Regions from separate parts of the Homo sapiens genome. Here regions 2 and 3 are each linked to region 1. Evidence: promoter capture Hi-C in human tissues and cell types (Jung and others, 2019). All regions are on one chromosome and are shown on one strand. Each heading gives the region's core, a stretch centred on a gene start or on the middle of the fragment in contact. The rest is flanking DNA. Distances are from core to core; before and after follow the strand shown. Region 1 holds the start of PDE4B (phosphodiesterase 4B). Region 2 overlaps PDE4B (phosphodiesterase 4B). Region 3 overlaps PDE4B (phosphodiesterase 4B).

Region 1 (2,700 bases), core at 67-2,566:
GTCTCGGGCTTTCATAGTTGGTTCTCCTATTAGGCAGTGAGCTCCTTGGGTGCAGAGACTATGTCCTAATCGACTCTGCATCCTTAGCTTCTGCAAAGTGCTCAGTGCACAGTAGGTGTGCATGATGTTTATTGGAATAAATCGAGAAACAGGCGAATGTTGTCTATTAAAGTCATTTTGGTCTCTAGCTACTGTAGTAGTTGGATAGGCAAAGTTACTTCATGCCTATCTTCCTCCTCTTTTCCTTGCCAGCTTCCTTCTTTTTTTCTCTGACTGAAAGGGCTGGACAACCGGGGAAAAGGAAACTTGTGCTTTCCAGCATACCTCTCCCACTCTACACACACACACACACACACTCTCTCTCTCTCTCTCTCTCTCTCTCTCTCGCTCTCGCTCTCGCTCTCTCTCCATCCTGTTGCATTTTTAAAGCAGGCTCAGTCAGGTTACTGAGTGCCTGTTGCTCCATCACACGAATTCCCAAGTTGTGGGACTCACCTTCAGGGGTGTCTTGGTGGAGCACCTCTTGGGAGGTGATCTGACCTGTTGGTTCAGGAGCACTGCGCGTATTCACTCTGGCGCTCCTTTGTGCAACAGGAGACCAGAGGACTCCCACGGTCCCACTGGCTCCTTCCACGTAATGTGCCCCGCTGGCTCTCTCGCCTCCCCCAACCCGGGGGTCTGCGTCCCCTGCGCCCCAGTCCCTCTTTGTGCAGCCAGTAGCTGCAGAGCTCTTCGTCTTGTATTCATGGCAGATGCACAGCGAGTGACTGACACGTTCCAGGGACGGCGAATGGGAAAGAGCGCGGGCGGCCGGGGGAGGGTGTGTAGTGGCAGACGGCCGCTGGGATTATGAATGGGGGCTGGGGGGCCGGCGAGTGTGGGGTTCAAACCAGGATTTTCGGTCTCTGGCTTTGGATAGGCACGCAGGGCTGTGCGTAATCCTTCAGCTCTGGTGGTAAGGGAGATGCAGTGAGCTCCCGGCTGGGAGAGAGGGTTATTTTGCAAAACTCCCCTGGTACCGTGCCCGCGGAATATTGCAGGAGGTCTGTGAGGTAGGTGGGGGAAAAAATAACCTGGGAGGGCAATCAGGGAGAGGCCAGACGACTGGGGACGGCGTGCTTTGCACCCTAGAATTGACAGGTGGTGGCCTCAGCAGTTACAACCTACTACACAGCATCTCGTCCGTGCGATACGGTCACATTGTTATTCCCCGCACCCGGCTGAGGAGCGCAGCGCGGCAGACCAAGTGGCACCGGCGAGCTGTCTCTCTTCCGGGGGGCGGGGGTGGACAGTAGGGAGAGGGGGTTTAAAGGGCCAGAGGACGAGAGAAGAGCTGAGGGGCGCGTCGCCAGCGCCTGTGTCTCCCTGGCGCGGGTTCCCCAGGCTAGCCCGCTGGCCCGTCCGCGCGCGCGCCCCCGGCCCGCGCGCCCCTTCCCGGGGCTCCTGGCCTCGCCTCAGCGGCTGCAGGCTCTTCGTCGCGGGCCGGGCTGCACGCGAGCGCCCTCCGGGCAGACTTTCGTCCCCCACCCCCGGGAGCGCGGAAGGCTCACTCGCAGCGCATGGTCTACCCGCGCCGGGCGGAGCCCCGGCGTCCAGAGCGCTGCGGCCGCGGCGGTGCAGCAGAGGCGCCTCGGGCAGGAGGAGGGCGGCTTCTGCGAGGGCAGCCTGAGGTAAGGGCTGCCTAGGAGGCTGCGGGTTTATTTTTCCTCATTCTCTTACTTCATCACACACTGAAGCCTCAATGGAGAGTGTAGGGTGCTGTGGGGCTGATGTGGGGCAAAGAGGGAATGGGGCCGCCGGGCCTGGATGGTCGTCTTGACGGCGTCATTGTCGCCCCTTGTAGGAAATCCGCCAACCGGCCCCTAGCCTTTCGCCCTCATCTTCTCTGCTTCGGCTTCCGCCCTTGGACCTCTTGACAAGTCACTGGGGAGGAGAGGATGGAGAGAGGCTAAGGGAGAATGGAGAGAGGCAGAAGGATTCAGGGCTTGGAAGCCCTGGAGTAGGTGACGGATGGGCGCGCGGTGCCCAGTGATTGACTGCAGGCAGCGGGCGCGGAAGGGAACCTGAACTACCCAAGAGTTTGCTGGGCTGAGGCTCCAGGATGCTCCTGCGTGCCCTGGTGGCTGGGGCACCAAGGAGGGGCGCACTCAAGCCTCGGCATCACCAAGGCTCTGCCAGGAACTTTTGGGAAGATTTGTCTGGTGTTTGGTGAGGGGGCTTGGACCTTTCTAGCTACAAGAGTGTGTTGGGGAAGGAAGAGGCTCTCCTCCTTTCTCCTGTCACTTTCCTTCATGCCTACTCTCTTCTTCCATCTTCCTGTTTTGCCTCCTTCCTTCCCGTTTTTCACAGGCCACCTTCCTTGTGCGGTACTTCAAACACAAATCGGAACCCACTATGGCCAACAGCTTTAAAGCGTGTATAAGGAGGAGCGCACAGAAGAATCGCTCTTAATTACAGTAGTTATATATGTGTGTGTGTGTGTCTGTGTGTGTCACACACGTGCCTGGGATAATTTTTAGCAAGACTTTGAGACGGTCACCTAAAATTACATTGTACTTACATTAGGTTTACATCATAATTATATGATGCCACTGAACAGAAATGGTAACTCTATGCATTCTGCATCTTAGATCTGAGATATAACTGTTCTTTGAATCACATGCATCGTTTAATTTCAAAGATTTCCAGCTGCTGGAAAAC
Region 2 (2,700 bases), core at 10-2,509, 72 kb after region 1:
TCTTGTTGATCTGTGTAATATTGACAGTGGGGTGTTAAAGTCTCCCACTATTATTGTGTGGGAGTCTAAGTCTCTTTGTAGGTCTCTAAGAACTTGTTTTATGAATCTGGGTGCTCCTGTATTCAGTGCATGCATATTTAGGATAGTTAGCTCTTCTTGTTGCATTGATCCCTTTACCATTACGTAATGCGTTTCTTTCTCTTTTTTGATCTTTGTCAGTTAAAGTCTGTTTTATCAGAGACTAGGATTGCAACCCCTGCTTTTTTGGCTTTCCATTTGCTTGGTAAATATTCCTCCTTCTCTTTATTTTGAGCCCATGTATGTCTTTGCCACGAAATGGGTCTCCTGAATGCAGCACACTGATGGGTCTTTATCCAATTTGCCAGTCTGTGTCTTTTAATTGGGGCTTTTAGCCTATATACATTTAAGATTAATATTATTATGTGTGAATTTGAGCCCCATATTTCTTGGAGGCTTTGTTCATTCCCTTTCATTCTTTTTACTGTAATCTTGTCTTTATACCTTATTTCAGTAAGTTGATCTTCAATCTCTGATATTCTTCCTTCTGCTTGATCAATTCAGGTATTGATACTTGTGTATGCTTCACGAAGTTCTTGTGCTGTGTTTTTCAGCTCCACCGAGTCATTTATGTTCTTCTCTAAACTGGTTATTCTAGTTAGCAGTTCCTGTAACCTTTTATCAAAGTTCATAGCTTCCTTGCCTTGGGTTAGAACATGCTCCTTTAGCTCAGAGGAGTTTGTTATTACCCACCTTTTGAAGCCTACTTCTGTCAATTCTTCAATCTCATTCTCCATCCAGTTTTGTGCCCTTGCTGGAGAGGAGTTGCGATCATTTGGAGAAGAGGCATTCTGGTTTTTGGAATTTTCAGCATTTTTGCCCTGGTTTTTCCTCATCTTTGTTGATTTATCTACCTTTGATCTTTGAGGCTGATGACCTTTGGATGGGTTTTTGTGCGGGGGTCCTTTATGTTGATGTTGATGTTTATGTTGCTTTCTGTTTGTTAGTTTTTCTTCTAACAGTCAGGCCCCCTCTTCTGCAGGTCTGCTGCAATTTGCTGAAGCTCCACTCCAGACCCTGTTCACCTGGGTATTACCAGTGGAGGCTGCAGAACAGTAAAGATTGCTGCCTGCTCCTTACTCTGGAAGCTTCATCCCAGAGGGGCACCAGCCTGATGCCAGCTGGAACTCTCCTGTATGAAGTGTCTGTCGACCCCTGTTGGGAGGTCTCTCCCAGTTAGGAGGCACGGGGTTCAGGGATCCACTCTAGGAGGCAGTCAGTCCCTTAGCAGAGCTCAAACACCGTGCTGGGAGAATCCACCTCATCAGTATCAGCTGCTCTCCTCAGAGCCCACAGGCAGGAACGTTTAAGTCCACTGAAGCTGCGCCCACAACCGCCCCTTCCCCCAGGAGCCATGTCCCAGGGAGATGGGAGTTTTATCTATAAGCCCCTGTATGGGGCTGCTGCCTTTCCTTCAGAGATGCACTGCCCAGTGAGGAGGAATCTAGAGAGGCAGTCTGCCCACAGCTGCTTTGCCATGCTGTGGTGAGTTCTGCCTAGTCCAAACCTACCAGCCTCCTTAGCACTGTCAGGGGAAAACCGCCTACTCAAGCCTCAGTAATGGCGGATGTCCTTCCCCACACCAAGCTCTATGGTCCCAGGTAGACTTCAGAGTGCTGTGCCGTTAGTGAGAATTTCAAGCCAGTGGTTCTTAGCTAGATGGGCTCTGTGGGAGTGGGACCCGCTGAGTGAGACCACTTGGCTCCCTGTCTTCAGCCCCCTTTCCAGGGAAGTGAATTGCTCTGTCTTGCTGGGGTTCCAGGTGCCTCTGGGGGGTGGCGGGGAGGGGAGGGGAGGAACAAAACTCCTGCAGCTAGCTTAGTGTCTGCCCAAACAGCTGCCCAGTTTTTTGCTTGAAACCCAGGGCCCTGGTGGTGTAGGCACATGAGGTAATCTCCTGATCTGCAGATTGCAAAAACTATGGGAAAAGCGTGCTAGGTGGGCCCAATAGCACAGTCCCTCACGGCTTCCTTTGGCTGAGGTAGGGAGGTCCCTGGCTGTTTGCATTTCCCAGGTGAGGCATGCCCCACTCTGCTTCTGCTCTTCCTCCGTGGGCTGCACCCATTGCCTAAACAGTCCCAATGAGATGAACTGGGTACCTCAGTTGGAAATGCAGAAATCACGCAACTTCTTTGTTGGTCTCCCTGGGAGCTCAGACTGGAGCCGTTTTTATTCGGCCATCTTGCCAGATCCTCCTGAATTCAGTCCCTCTCTGATACAGTCTTTCTCTCTGTCTCCCTCTCTCCCTCCATCCCAACTCCACCACCCCCACTCCTTGAAACTAGTACAAAGCTCTGATCCTGTGTGAATTGTAGCTGCTCTGTAGACCTAAACTTTCTATAAGTAGGCTGTCCCAAGATTTGGACTCGGACAGGTTATCCTCACACCAAGCCATGTTCTTCAACAGCTTTATCAGTATGAAAGATGATATTTTGCTCTCCACTTGTCTCTTTCATTTGATTAGTTCCAATCTTGGGAAAGGGAGGGGTTAATCATTATTGAGCCTCTAAAACTCCAACTTTTTTTTTATTTTGTAAATTTGCCTTAGTTTTATGGTTATATGGGCACTAGATGCAAATAATTGTATTTATTTTTATGTTACATAAATGTAAGTACAATTAT
Region 3 (2,700 bases), core at 15-2,514, 110 kb after region 1:
CCTGCTCATTTGAGAGGCTGATGTCGGAGAATCTGTTGAGCCCACGAGGTTGAGGCTGCAGTGAGCCATGGTCGTGCCTGGGCAATAGAGCAAGAGCCTGTCTCAAAATAATTTTTAAAAAATTTAAAAAAACAAAAATAAATAAGGAAATGATAGTTTCTAAATATGAAGACACTTAAAGACCAATAAAAATGTATTTCTATGTTCCTTTATGTTCTATCAAAACAATATTATGTGGCATTCTAGTATTACCACATGAGTTTCAGCCTTCTGCTTTTGAAATTGTTTCTGTTTACATGCTTATTTTTCGTATGTCCACATAGACCTGAATCCCCTGACATTTTAATAGAGCTGGGACAGACAGGCCCAAATTGGATGTTGCTTCTAGGTAGGGAATCACTGGCAGACTTCATATCCAATTATATTTCAGTTAAGCCAGTAAATATTAGGCCATTAATTCATTTGAAGTCCTGGAAAGATTTCTCACATTTTTGTTATCTTCCTCTTATGAAGTCTGTAATGATGTAGTATTTATATTTCTGAGAAAGGAATGCACAGAAATTTTGTGTGCTTGCTTGCTTAAAACAAGAATGAACTATTGCCCTTTGTTGTTTCAGTGGTCTTCCCAAGAAAGGAAAAAAAGTTACTTGATGAAGAGTGTCTGGGGTCTTTGAGTCTACATAGAAGACTTACACCAAATTACTGTCTGTGTCCCATATACCCCATGAAACATGTTTGAACAGCACTGTACAGGTGGACAATTTTTTGAAGTCTAGAGACATAGCACTTGTGAATGAATGTCATGAGTCTTCTGTATTAACTTAAAAAAAATTTAGTATTGGATCAAAGTCTAATTTAGAAGAAAAAATACTTGGTGAATTCTTGTTGAAACATAAGATAAAACAGAGACAAATTATTATGCTTTTTAAGTTATGTTTTAGATATACAGTTTTATACACACAATTTACGTTTTCCAATTTAATGTAAATTCCTATGAGATTACATGAAAGAGTAGCTGTTCATAGGCTCCATATGTTCTGCCAACTGCATATCTCTCCTTTATGTTTCATCATTAAAAAAATCTTCTGATTCCTTTCTTGTTCTGAAATACTACTTTTATTCCCAATTATCCTGTTTCTTGGCCCTGACCCATCCTATTTGCTGCTTGTTCTCTGATAAACAATGCTTATTTGCTGCTTCCAAGTGGCAGCAGACGTAATGGTTAATTTCATGAGCTCTGCAGGCATAGTGCCTGGGTGTGAATCCTGTCTCTCTGCCTTTTCCTAGATTAGTGAGCTTAGATGAGTCATTCACCCTTTCTGGGCCTCAGAATTCTCCCCTGCAAAATGGAGATAAAAATAGTTGTGAGAATTACATGAGATGATAGATTTAGGGACTATAGAATAGTGCCTGCCATAAAGTTATTCATATCTCTGTCAGAAGAGTAGGAATATGTATCCTGTCAATATAGCTGACATTTGCAGTTTACCAGGCATTCTGATTCTATTTCCTGCCCCCTCCTATCTGCTGCTTTTGGATTATCACACTTTCAGGGAATCTAGCAAGAGGCCTCAAGCCTATCTAGTCTACTCATTCAAACATTTTCCAGCAAATATTTATTGCTTGGCACAAGAGATATAGTGGTTGGCAGTATTCTCTATGAGCTTCTGGGAGGCATAAACCTATTCATTCATACAAACAAATATGTAATTGTGAAAAATACTGTGAATAGAAAAATAATGTGATAATACCTTCTTACAGGTAGGGGAAGTCCATAAAGGCTTTTCTGAACAAATGACATCAAAGCTGAAGGCTGAAGAATGGGTTAGCCCGGCAAAGTTGAAGACATGTTATAGTGTAGGAAAAGTTTGGAGACAAGAAGGGCATGCTGGATACACTCTACATCCAGTCGAACTAAAGCTAAATGAGTTACAGGGGAGAGTGATGTGGCATAAGCATAAGGTGGGGAAGCAAGTGGAAGCAAAAATAGGAAGTTGAGGTTTAAAAGTCAAGCAGGGACCAGATCTGTAGGGACTTGTATGATTAATCTTCATATTAAGGGTTTTGCTTTATCCTAAAAATTACAGAAAGCATGAAGAATGCAAAGCTGGGGATTAATATAAGGAATTTTGCATTTTTAAAAGATCACACTGGAGAATAGAGAGAGGGGGAGTGGAAGGGCTTCTCTCTTTGTTTCTTAGTTACAATACCTGGAAAAGGACAGTAGCCTCCTCAATGAAGCTTTCCTTGATAACATTTTGCCCATAGAGGTGGCTTCACTCATTTTTTCACCTAATGAACCCATGATCTGTTGCACTTCTCACACTGCACTGTGAACCTGACCCAGGCCAAGGTGTTCAGTATTGTAGGATGAATAAGCGTTGATTCTCCTCTCCTAAGATGAGACAGGGGCATTTTAAGGCCAAGGACTATGTATATTCGTCTTTGTATTATCCACGGCATCTAGCAAGTCCCTACCACATGTTGGGCTCTCAATCTTTTGTTGATGTTGTTGTTGAGAAATCAGATGAAAAGAAGTGGTTTTTCATGATGGATGGAAATGGGGGTTTTGGATCATGGATGCAATTTAATTTTTTATACTCTCATTGAAAGTTGGTAATATTAATTGAAATCCTAGAGTGGCTGTTTGATAAATACCTTTGAGGGTAGCATTAGAAGATCTAAATTTGAGCATGAGCA

What was found. The method cuts DNA at HindIII sites, captures the fragments that hold promoters and counts their contacts. A contact is called where the count stands out against the background at its distance.
Region 2: a contact is called between a fragment that was not itself captured here and the fragment with the promoter of PDE4B in region 1, in 2 of the 25 tissues and cell types used here (neural progenitor cells and pancreas).
Region 3: a contact is called between a fragment that was not itself captured here and the fragment with the promoter of PDE4B in region 1, in 3 of the 25 tissues and cell types used here (IMR-90 fibroblasts, adrenal gland and bladder).

The regions. Positions count from the first base shown.
Region 1 is chr1:65,791,579-65,794,278 of GRCh38, forward strand. It overlaps PDE4B (phosphodiesterase 4B), which reads left to right and starts at 1,317. Exons shown (of 17, transcript NM_002600.4): 1 at 1,317-1,670. The HindIII fragment of the contact is 13,295 bases long and covers 1-2,700 here.
Region 2 is chr1:65,863,572-65,866,271 of GRCh38, forward strand. All of the region lies in intron 1 of PDE4B (phosphodiesterase 4B), which reads left to right. Among named protein-coding and RNA genes, the nearest start is that of PDE4B, 72 kb to the left of the region's middle. The HindIII fragment of the contact is 6,954 bases long and covers 1-2,700 here.
Region 3 is chr1:65,903,476-65,906,175 of GRCh38, forward strand. All of the region lies in intron 1 of PDE4B (phosphodiesterase 4B), which reads left to right. Among named protein-coding and RNA genes, the nearest start is that of PDE4B, 110 kb to the left of the region's middle. The HindIII fragment of the contact is 5,447 bases long and covers 1-2,700 here.